4 separate regions of the Homo sapiens genome follow, and all the other regions are linked to region 4. Evidence: promoter capture Hi-C in human tissues and cell types (Jung and others, 2019). All regions are on one chromosome and are shown on one strand. Each heading gives the region's core, a stretch centred on a gene start or on the middle of the fragment in contact. The rest is flanking DNA. Distances are from core to core; before and after follow the strand shown.

What was found. The method cuts DNA at HindIII sites, captures the fragments that hold promoters and counts their contacts. A contact is called where the count stands out against the background at its distance.
Region 1: a fragment that was not itself captured here is called in contact with the fragment with the promoter of CD180 in region 4 in 1 of the 25 tissues and cell types used here (dorsolateral prefrontal cortex).
Region 2: a fragment that was not itself captured here is called in contact with the fragment with the promoter of CD180 in region 4 in 1 of the 25 tissues and cell types used here (dorsolateral prefrontal cortex).
Region 3: a fragment that was not itself captured here is called in contact with the fragment with the promoter of CD180 in region 4 in 1 of the 25 tissues and cell types used here (hippocampus).

The regions. Positions count from the first base shown.
Region 1 is chr5:66,896,762-66,899,525 of GRCh38, reverse strand. All of the region lies in intron 3 of MAST4 (microtubule associated serine/threonine kinase family member 4), which reads right to left. Among named protein-coding and RNA genes, the nearest start is that of MAST4-AS1, 110 kb to the left of the region's middle. The HindIII fragment of the contact is 3,339 bases long and covers 1-2,764 here.
Region 2 is chr5:66,837,212-66,840,286 of GRCh38, reverse strand. The region is part of intron 3 of MAST4 (microtubule associated serine/threonine kinase family member 4); the gene reads right to left. Among named protein-coding and RNA genes, the nearest start is that of MAST4-AS1, 170 kb to the left of the region's middle. The HindIII fragment of the contact is 3,103 bases long and covers 1-2,853 here.
Region 3 is chr5:66,937,540-66,940,676 of GRCh38, reverse strand. All of the region lies in intron 4 of MAST4 (microtubule associated serine/threonine kinase family member 4), which reads right to left. Among named protein-coding and RNA genes, the nearest start is that of MAST4-AS1, 65 kb to the left of the region's middle. The HindIII fragment of the contact is 6,486 bases long and covers 1-3,137 here.
Region 4 is chr5:67,194,991-67,198,087 of GRCh38, reverse strand. It overlaps CD180 (CD180 molecule), which reads left to right and starts at 1,289. Exons shown (of 3, transcript NM_005582.3): 1 at 1,289-1,536. The coding sequence starts at 1,447. RefSeq lists an enhancer at 2,316-2,465. The HindIII fragment of the contact is 16,000 bases long and covers 1-3,097 here.

The sequences.
Region 1 (2,764 bases), core at 113-2,612, 300 kb after region 4:
GCCCTCAACAGAAATATATTCATGCAAACATTATGCATACCAAATATTGTACTTCCTATTTTTAAAATAATAATGGAAAAGATTTCCTTTTGGTATTATTTCTCAAAACATCCATTTATTCCTTGGGATATTTAAAAGTAGCTTAATCAACTTCTAAAAGGTAATCAGACAACCACAACAATTATTAGAGTGCTTCATAGTTTTAAAAGGGTGCCTTCACACTTATCTCAATTTTAAGATTCTTACCTACCTAATCATCAAGAGGCTGTGGAAAACTAAAAAACCACCCAAGAAAACAAGCCAACCAAAGAAATAAACAAAAATAGATTCAGAAATACCTCTTATCCACTAATGAAGTTTTCAAAGCTCAAGAATAATTACTTGCTGTCAATTATTAAAGAACAGGAAGCAATGAGTCGTTTGGCTATTTAAACTCAAAATGAAGCGCATTATGACTAAATTTGGTTATTCATGCCCATAATTCTCATTTATTTTTCTGCCTTTCAGGTGCTTGAGCACTATCCTTTGAAAGGTATTTCCCCATCAGCTTCAAACTCACCTTTCCTGTCTCTTATTTTTATTGAATATTTCAATGTTTGTCATGGACAGCAGGCTCAGCTATCACTTTTCCACAGCACAACTTACTCCAGCACAGCTTACAGAAAGTGGCAGTGAGAGCATCAGACCAGAGGGGAGGAGAGCTCTGTGGCTGCTGCTTTAAACACAGCAGGACTTACTTATTAACTGGCAAATATATTTCCATACAGAGTTACAGCAATCATAACTGTTCAAAAGCAAGAAAAACAATCAGCAATTTTAGGAATGAAGTGTCGTCTTCTTTCACCCAATAGCAAAACCTTTTCTTTTCAAGGGCTCTAGGGTTCAGTGGTAAAGTGCTTTTTGTTTTGTTTTGCTTTGCTTTGCTTTTTTCTTTAATCCTTGATTAGCTCCAAGAAATTATAGTGTTTGCTGAACTTGGCTCCCTGATTCTGAAACATAAATATACCTTCATTTACTAAAACCTCTAATGACAAGAGAAAAGTCTCTGACCAAGACAGTTTTCCTTGGGAACCGAAACATAAATAGAAAACCAATGAGTAATTTTCTATACATGGATCTTTGGTTACCATAAGCATTGAGAAATCAGTGTTGTATTCAGGTTAAAGAAAACAAAAAGAGAGAACTTCCTAGAAGTAATAGCTCACCACACTGTATCTTTTATTTTTTAATTTTTATTTATTTTTAGGATGAGGTCTCACTACATTGCCCAAGCTGATCTCAAACTCCTGGGTTCAAGCATCCTCTTGCCTCAGCCTCCTGAGTAGCTGAGATTACAAAATACACCACACTGTACCAGACTCAGGCCATTTCTCCTAGAAAGGCATTGATACTAGTGCAGAGCAAAGGCCTAGAGACCAAATGAATAATACTGCTCTGTCCAATAAGCTGATCTGACAGCCGCATAAAAGGTACCTGAGGTGTTATCATTAATAACAACAAAATAATAAATCAGATGTTATTTCAACTATATATGCAAATAGATCACTCAGAAGATATAAGAGGAAAGGGACCAAACGAATGACCCAAATAGTTCCATCAATCATATTCCACCAAATAACCTGAGCATAAACTGGCTGCTTTGCTCTGAGAAAAAGCTGCTGAAACAGCAAGATAAGGGATAAAAACCAACTCTGTTTTTAATCAGAAATCTTTCCAGTAGGTCTAGAATTATGAGTTCTAAACAAGGAGAAAGGTTACAGTGGGTAACCCAGCACTGCTGCTCCACGGGATGGCAGCCGAGATTCCAAGATGAGGAGCAAAGGACATTTAATAGGCCACTGTCAACTGACCTGAAGCTACCACGCTAACCAAGCTGTAGGAGCTAATCCACCTGATGGCTTGAATGTCAGGCTCAGGACTGGAAACTCAATTTGGTAGCAAATTGGAATCAGATGTGATGGTAATAAAGTGAGAGAAATGAATGTGCTGTGGCCAAGACCTTGTGAACAATAGCTGCAAAAGTCTGCAAATACCAGGAGGGCTAAGCGGTTGCAGCCTGCGCGGGGAGCAGCTCCTGCCCTAATGGATGAGGGCCACATGCTGATAAATCTGCACCTGTCAGACGTCAATGAACGGCATCAAGTCATTTTATCGCCAAAGTCCCTGCAGTACTTCGTGTATGTGTCCTCATTTTATTTTCTTAATGTCAGGATAAGGTCACTAACACATACTTAGATAATTAGATAAGACGTGGTATTGGTCTGGGTCATAAACCCAAGCTTGTGCTTGACATATGTGGAGTGTGTGTTAAAAATTTACTGTCACGTAAGAATTGGAGGAGGAAAGAAAAAGGGAAAAAAGCAAAAAACAGCAAGAAGTATCCATCTGAACTAAACAATATGCTAATTGTTGACACTGGATTAAAGAAATTCTTAAGATTAAAAATTTCTAGATTTTCATTGATATTGATGACTCAATGACATTTAACATTTTTTAGAGTTGCTGTTTATCATTACTTGCTTGATATTGTATCCTCCCCCCAGACTTTTAAGTGTTAACTAGCAAATATTTGCATTAAAGATAAAGATTAAATAAAATTAATCTTGTCTGAGAATCCTGTTGTTTTTGAGATCTCTCAATATACCTGAGGTTACCAAAAGATCCCTCCAATCCAGGAAGAAAACTCATGGAGAGTCTGAGAAGAAAGAAGCGTAAATGATCCTGCTCCTTTCACCCAGCCATCCTTAGCTTCAAAAAGAGAAGG
Region 2 (3,075 bases), core at 53-2,552, 360 kb after region 4:
AAACAATCACTATCTCATCATGAAAAATGTTAAGATAAAAATATAAAATGAAATATTTCTAGACCTAGCTTCTAAATTTTAGCACAAAGCTAAAAAATTTTCATTTTAAAATTTCCAATTAGAAAATATTTAATGTTTTCTCTCATCATTTTGAGCTAGTTGTTACAGATTCTACGTCTGACTTCCTACCACTTTCCTGAGGAGTGCATATTCTCAACATACTAAACTACTAGGCCAAAGCTCAAAAAAAAAGTGAAGCTAGTAAAATTAAGCTTGTATTCTCATTTGTTGCCCAAGAACGCGTCAGTTTAAAAAAAAAAATTGTCAATATGATGCAATGGCTTTGTGAACACACACACACACACATGCACAAAGAAACTGGAAACAGAGTGCAAGAAAACTGATAAAAATGTACATGTCATGTGTTTTTCTTAGTTGAACACCCATCTTCAATTACAGATACTCCATTCAAATGGAACAAAAATCTTGGCTGAATTTGATGTAATCTCACTCTTTTAAATTCACTCACTGTTCAAGTAATACAGTACACCAACCTCATCATCTTCATTTAAAAATAAATTGCTTTTTCCATTACAGCCTCTAGTTTGAGATGTTTCATTCTGCCTTTCAAAAACTGTATTGGAATGAGACTTGTAGGCAAGTTGTCAAAGTTGGAAGCAATTTGGGGAAAAAAAAAACCTACACATCTTCAAAGCTGGACATATTATTTTCAAGGCCTGATACTAAACCACAGAACTACTTTGTGCACCATGTAATTTTAACCATTCCTGCAAAATAAGTGTTAAAATACACATTATGGTACAATTCTGGAAAACCATTCTAACAGAAATCTATGAGTCTGGGAGAAATTGCATTTTCTCTTTATTCACAGTCTAGTTCAATTAATTATTATAGTTGGTAACTTTACAGTCTCTCTCCAGGCTTGAGCTCTCTTTAGAAGTTTAAAACTACATATCCAACTGCTTACTGAACATCTGCACCTAGATGGCTTCCACAGGTACTTCAAACTCAAGATTCACAGAACGAACTAATTCTCTTCTCAGCATCCAAGTCACATTTATCTCTTGCTCTTGTTTCTAATCCCTAACTCCTGAAACCATAAGGTCACCTCAAGCTTCTTCCATCTCTCTTTTGCCAACCATCAACAGGTCACCATGTCCTGTTAATTCTACCTTCAGTTGCCTTTCTCCATTTCACTGTCACCACCTCGGTCCAGCAGCATCATCTACCACCTCCTCATTTCTAAATTCCTAGCTGTTTATCTTACTTCTTTTCTTGGCCTCTTCCTAAGCATTCTTCATTAATAGTTGACAGAATAGTTCACAGTTGATAAAATATTTCTATGCCCTGATTACAGTCTTTCAATGGCTTCCTATTGCTAGACTATGAGGCCCAAATCCCTGAACACAGACAGCATCATTCTTGAGACTCTGCTAAACACTTCCTGCTTCCCACATGCACTATTTGCAATTCCTTGAAAAAGATGCACCCTGTTCAGCCACCACACCTTGCACACACTGTTGCTTCCTCCGCCTAGAATCCTCATCTTGCCTAATCAGTACCTGTTCATCCTTCACCATCCGGCAGAAATATCTCCACCTCCATGAAGGCTTCCCGGCTTCCTTCCGCAGAGCAGGGCACCATGCTCAAGGCCCCTGTATCTTGACTGATGATAGTTGTAGCATTTGCTATTTCAGAAACTGTTGTCTGTCTCACCTACCATAACAGAAACCCTTCACAGGTCAGTGTCATATTCCACTCATTTTTGTACTGCTAGAGTCTAAGATAAAAGTACAATAGGGTAAGTTTAAGACACAGCACACAGTTCTCTGACACAAACAGTTCAATATATGCTATTATTATCATTAAACATTTATTGAAAGAAAAGCAAAGAATGGGGTTCTGTCCTTGACTGCCTCATCAAAAAAGCACATACATTCACAATCTAAATAAAATAGCCAATGTTTTGAGAGCTCAAACATGTACATTATTGAAGAGTATCTAAGATAAAGGTTTCCAAATCACAGGCATTATTGTCTCTAGCATTAGGAAAACATTTTAAGGGACAAAGCAACTGTCTCATCATGCCCTGGAGGTGGTTTTCTAATGGAAACCATGGAGCATGTCCAGCAATTTTAAAAACATAAAACTGCACCTGGACACTACCAGTGCCATGGGTCCCTTAGAGGTAATGGTCTAGAGCTGCCTCCAGCTACCCCACTATGATAATTGCCCCCCAAGGCAGATTGGTTAATGGTTTGAGCTCTCATGTTACTATCATTGTTGTTATTTGGAAGCTCAACAAACAAATATGGTGAGTATATCCACCTTCCAAACACCTCCACATTAAAAAAAAAAAAAAAAAAAAAAATATATATATATATATATATATATATATATAAAATCAAGTCTCACTTGAGACTTGATAGAAAGGAGACCAAAGCACTGACATACATTTTAAAGGCTGTCAAACCTTACATTTGGATATTGAGAAGTTGTAGGTTTGATGATCTGGGAGTTACCTGGACCCCTAGTCCCCTAAGAGCAGTGGGTTTCAACTCTGGCTGCACACCACTGAGAGATGCTAATTGAATTGCTGTGATTGTATCTAGACTATAGGCTTTAGGAAGCTTTCCAGGTGGTTCAATAGGGCAGCCAGCTACAGGTGAACCACGTCCTAAGGGTTAGAGACATGCACCAAATTAAAGTTGATTTATCTTGCTTAATTCCAAAAGACAGCACAAAATAGAAAAGAGCCTTGAAGGACCTTTCATTGATGGTGCTAAATACTACATAAAGGCTTTTCTTAGACAATGAAGGAAAGCAAAGTTAAAAACAGGCACCCAAAACCCACTTATTTAACTAATTATAAAGTAAAACATGCTTACTGTTGGATGGTTCAAAGAAAAATTTATATCCCACTAAGATATAATGAATATTAACATTTTAGTACATTTTCATGTTATTTTAGATGATAATGATGAAGAAAAAGAAAATACGTTCTCAACGTTAACTACAATACATATTTTTAAGCTTTCCATACCTCATTTGAAT
Region 3 (3,137 bases), core at 637-3,136, 260 kb after region 4:
CAATGAAAAAAGGAACTGCAGATATAGTAGAAATAGAACGAAAATTAGAAATGGAGCCTGAAGATGTGACTGAATTGTTAAAATTTGATGTTAAAACTTGAATGGATGAAGAGTTGCTTCTTATGGATGAGAAAGAAAGTTATTTCTTGAGGTAGAATTTACTCCTAATGAAGATGCTATGAACAACGTTGAAATAAAACCAAAGGATTTAGAATATTACACAAACTTAGTTGATAAAGCAATAGCAGGGTTTGAGAAGGCTGACTCCAATTATGGAAGAAGTTATACTGTGGATAAAATGCTACCAAATAGCATTGACTGCTATGGATAATCTTTTGTGAAAGAAAGAGTCCACTGCTGTGGCAACCTCATTGTTGAATTATTTCAAGAAATTGGCACAGTCACCGCAACCTTCAGTAACCACCACCCTGATGAATCAACAGCCATCAACATCAAGGCAAGACCCTCCAGCAGCAAAAAGATTATGACTTGCTGAAGGCTCACAGGATCTTGTTTTTTAGCAATAAAGTATTTTTAAATTAAGATATGTGTGTGTGTATATACATACATATACATATATACATATATATACACATACATATATATTTATGAGACAGGGTCTTGCTCTGTTGCTCAGACTGGAGTGTAGGAGCATGATCATAACTCACTGCAGCCTCGTACTCCTAGGATCAAGGCATCCTCCTGCCCTAGACTACTGTGTAGCTGGGACTGCAGGTATGAGCCACCACAGCCTGGCTAATGTACATTGTTTTTGTAGACAGAATGCTATTGCACACTTAATAGACTACAGTATAGTTTACACATAGCTTTTATATGCACTGGGAAATCAAAAAAGTTGTGTGCTGCTTTATTGTGATATTTGTTTTATTGCAGTCACTTTACGGCAGTGGTCTGGGGAAAAAAAAAAACAAAAACCCAGCAATATCTCTGAGGTATCTTGTATACAAATAAATCCAGATTTGTTGTAAAATAAAACAGTATATTCATCACAAATGTTTTATATATAGATCTAGAAAATTTATCTGTAACAGAAATGACAAAAGATTACCTCAGAAAACAATTACAAATTGATACAAATGACCCCAGATACATAATGGCAAAATATGAATTGGTATTTCTCAGAAAAGAATAACTAACTAGCAAAATACAATGAAAAGGTAAAACGTTGTTAGTGAAATTCAAATTAAATTAACAATGAGATATCACTTTACACAGAAATTGGCAAAATATAAACATTGTTAAAATACATATTTTTGGCAAGGATATGGAAAAAGATGGTACTTTGCAAACAGTTTGCAAGTGGAATACGTGTATATATTATTTCCTCTCTGGTTCAGTTTATTTTCTATTAACCTGTTTTCCAGTTTACTAATCCTGTCTTCCACTGTGTTTAATTAACTTTAAACCCATCCAGAGAGTTCTTAATTTCAGATACTATGCTTTTCAGTTTTCTATTTGTTTCTCTCTTCACAAATTTCAATTCTCTGATGAAATTTTCCAAATTTCCATCTGTTTTTCTTTTACCTATTTTGTTAACTGATTAATATAAGTTAACATTAATTATGTATTTTTAAGTCCATATGTTCTAACTCCAATCTCTGGAGCAAAATTGCAAATGCACATTATATTGTCTGTCTACTGTCTTTTGGTCACATGTTTTTGTCTTTTAGAATATCTATAACTTTTAATTATCAGGTATTATACTAAAAAACTGAAAAGGCTCTAAATCAGTGTTCCCCAACCTTTATTTTTCACTATTATCTCTATAAAGAACTTTAATAGACTTTTTGTTACTAATTTCCCCAACCTGCCAGTTGTATCTGTTTATGTGTTGTGGGTTTTTGAAGGTCCACAAATCACTGTACCATTTAATATTTGTTTCACACTGGAAGAACCAATCTTGTGCCTACTGAGAACACATGCTCTAAAGGATGTTATTTTCTACAAGAGGGTGTTACTCTTCCTCATATAGGCAGATAGAGAATTGATCACCTTAGTGCAGTCATGGCTGAGCTGAGTAAAGGCTGGTTACGGTTCAGGTATAACTTGGTGTATCTCAGATTCGGCCCTGTTCCCAGGTTTTCCCTGGGTTTTCAACAGACAGCCTGGTGGACCTTTGCCCAACTCCTCTTTAAACTCATGAATAGAACACAATCATTACCATTGTAAAGCCAATTAGACAGTGTTCTTCTGATTAAAAGATACAGGTCCATTAAATTCCGGCAATTTTTTCATATCTTGAAGCCATTTTCTCTTTCTGGATAGCAAGAAGCTTTCACTTAAATATGAACAAGGCACTATGTGACAAAATTACCATGTAACTAAAAACCAATTTTCAGTTATATGGCATTTTAAATTTTAATATTTCTTATACTAGGGAGCATATTTTACACTAACAGTCTAGATTTATCTTAATAAGGCAGTAAAAGCATTATAAGAAAAAACATCTACCATAATCATTATGTAATGCTGATTTGGAATAAGATTCTAGGCAATATGACAGTTCTAAAAGAGGTAAAAGTATTGAAAAAGGTGAAAAATTATCATTATTTGTACATAATTTTGTATCTAGAAAACCAAACAGACTCAACTGAAAAACTATTAGAATTAATATAAATATAACAGCTAAGTGCCCTGAATGGATCCCACAGAAAAATATAAAATTCCAGTTTTGCTGCCAATGACAACAAGAAAAGGTGGTATAAAAGAAGAAACTATTAACATAAAAACAAAACTAAAATAAAGGGTATAATCATAAAAAAATATGGGTTAACTACAAGGAAAAGAAAACACTTTAGAAAGAGAAACTAATACCAGAATCATTAGACTGAATATAAAAAATGTTTCTGGAAGAAAAAATTAGATGCCACAGGATGACACTTTCTCCTAAGTAAAATGTATACTTTTAATATGCACCTTAGGGAAATACAGCATGAAGGGAGAACCTCAACCATGATTCTAACTTACCTAGAAAAAAATGAATAGTTGAAAAAAATGAGTAGATGAACGTACTACATAAAAACCTGTAAAAGAAGAGCAAATATAGAAACATATGTCTACCCTTGTTAAAAATAGTGTAGTAATGGCTAAAGAAAATACAGACCACAAAACCTGAA
Region 4 (3,097 bases), core at 40-2,539:
ATTCTTCGCCCCATCTACTCTTCAGCTCCTTCAGGAGGCAAAGTCCTTTCTTAAACTGTGAAGAGTAGCAGCATAGTCTCTGCAGTGAGATTTTCTGGATCTGAAGCCCTAATCTACCACTCTCTAATTGTGTGGCTTGGAGAGATCATTTAATTTCTCTTAAGCATCAGTTTCTACATCTATAAAATGAGGGAAATAATAATATCTCTCTTATAGAATATATGGAAATATTCGAGGATAGGAAAATGCAGCAAAAAACTGCATTAAACCTGACCCAGTGTCTGACACATAGTAAGGACTCAATAAATGGCAGATACTATAGTCATTTGATTCATCATAGTAATACTGTAGAGGTGGTGGTGGTGGTGGTGGTGGTAGTAGTAGTAGTAGCAGTAGTTAAGTCATTGTGAACTCTGATACTAAGAACTGGGCTCTTGGAAATGGAGTGGGAGAACAGTAACACCAAATATATCCTGTATGCCAGAGGGTTGAAGAACAGACAGAACAGGTAGCTAAATGCAGCCTATTGAGGAATGTTTGAACTTTGGCTTTCTTTAATCATTGCCACATCTTGCTCCATAATAAGGGTAATTGTAATCCTGCTTCAAAGCTATTTCTAAGAAGAAATAGAGCCAAGGCTGGCATCCCTAACTCTACTCTCCTTTAGCCAGGCTGCTCTATCTATGGCAGTGTCCCCTACTTCCCCAGGCCAGGTTAGGAGGGAACAAGAGAGTCCACCCCAACTGCTTTAACAAGCCTGAACCGCCAGGTCAAGAGATGAAGTAATCTTCCCCCTATACGAAGACCAGAGGTGGGGATGGACAAGGTGGCCAAGGCAGCAGCTGAGGCTCAAGGAGCAGATACACTCTCAAGCCTGCTCCCTCCTGCTCCAGTTCCCAGCTCAGCAGGTGCCACTGAAGGGCTCAGTTCTTCAGTCTGCCCCTGCAGAGTGCTCTGCCCTTCCATGTTCTCTGACACCTCTTCTATTCACTCACCTAGGACAACTAAGAAAGTGGCCTCCTTGGTGAGTAGAGCTTCCACAGCCTCTCTCGGGGAAAAGGACCAGAAGCTGTTGGAGTTGGCCAAATGCTTGAAGTTGGCATAAAGTCAATTGGAACCATCACAATGAGAGTCTGTGTGATCAGCCCAAAAGGACTGCACAACTGATTCATGTTCAGTGCCAGGAAATGCAACGGGCCATTCTGGGGTTGGGTCCTCAGTTATTTTTGGCAAAGATGGGTGGTATGCAAAAGGGACTTCCTTTTTTTTTTTTTTTTTTTTTTCCAGCACAGAGCCACAGAATGCTGAGCAGTCAACAGCATTTCTTGTTCCAAGATCACCCTTCTGAGTACCTCTCTGGCTGCCAAATTGCCAGGGCCTTCACAGTTTGATTCCATTTCTCAGCTCCAAGCATTAGGTAAACCCACCAAGCAATCCTAGCCTGTGATGGCGTTTGACGTCAGCTGCTTCTTTTGGGTGGTGCTGTTTTCTGCCGGCTGTAAAGTCATCACCTCCTGGGATCAGATGTGCATTGAGGTGAGTCCAAACTGTTTGTCTTTATGCAGATTAAACTGTCTGAAAATTTTGAGATTTAGCACGCAGTCCAATCTGAGCCTTGGCATCCCAATATCTAGTGTCTTTAAAAAGGAAATAAGGTGTATATATAATTTTTTCATTATTGTGAGAAAGGAGCCAAAGAACTCTGCCAGGGGATCATCTGGTGGCATCTTAATAGGAAGCAAAGAGAATTTTTCTCCTCTTCAAACAATTCCACCCAAATAATCCCAAGTGGGTCATAAGATATTAATAGGGTCTGTGTGCACAAAGCAGACCCCTAAACCTGCCTCAACCTAGGGGAGCTGTTGGTTTAACATCCCCACTCTCACATGGCCTCTATCCCAATGAGTCCTTTGGTCTCCTCTCAGGGTGAGAATTAGTAAAGACAGCGCTGTGCCAGGTTTTCGAGCATTGAAAAGATCACTCTGAATGAGTCTGGCTCTCTCTTGGACTTGGACAGCCTTCCATCTGTTTTACTAACCCATAGGAGGAAAATCTGAGAATAGAGCCAAATTGCACCTTCTGTTTTGGACCATAGCAATATTTATCAACCTGTGGGAAGTTCTTGGAGGGGATAATGAGAGAAAAAGGAGAAGGGCCTCCGTCTCTTGCCATCCTCTAAAATGCTTCAAACTTCCTCCCACTTTCTCTGACCCCACAAGTGATCAATACCACGTGGCCTGTCAGACAAGGGCTGCATACAGGAGGAACCATGAGTCTTGGTGGCTTGGTGAGCTGCTGGTCTGGGTTGAGGTAAAAAGAAGAGTAAGAGCCAGGAATAGCCAGATGTGGAGTTGCCCTGGGGCAGGACTAGAAGGAGATCAGAGGATCAGGAAGAGCAGAGCAAAGCCAGCACTGGGGTAAGGCTCAGAGCTGGGTGAGCAGAGCCTTGTTGGTCTGGCATTAGGATGGAATCAGCAGCAGGCCAAGAGGAGGCATCATGCCAATGAGAAATGAAGGCTGGGAAGGTGTGTGTTGCTTTGCTTGGGCTGTCATAACAAATGCCACAGACTGGGCCAGGCGTGGTGGCTCACGCCTATAATCCCAGCACTTTGGGAGGCCAAGGTGGGTGTATGCCTTGAGACTGGGAGTTCGAGACCAGTCTGGGCAACATGGCAAAACCCCATCTGTACTAAAAATACAAATATTAGCTGGGCATGGTGGCACATGCCTGTAATCCCAACTACTCGGGAGGCTGAGGCAGGAGACTCACTCAAACCCGGGAGGCAGAGGTTGCAGTGAGCCGTGATTGTGCCACCGCACTCCAGCCTTGGCGACAGAGCAAGACTCTGTCTTAAAACAAACAAACCAAAAATACACCAAAAAACAAAAACAAACCAAAAAAACCCTGAATACCATAGACTAGGTGACTTAAACAAGAGAAATTGATTGTCTCACAGTTCTGGAGGCTGGAATTTTAAGATCAAGGTGTTGGCAGAGTTTGCTGCTTCTGCACCCTCGCTCCCTGGCATGCAGATGGCCATCTTCTCTCTGTGTCCTCTCATGGCCTTTCCTGTGTGCATGAGCACTGGTGTCTTCT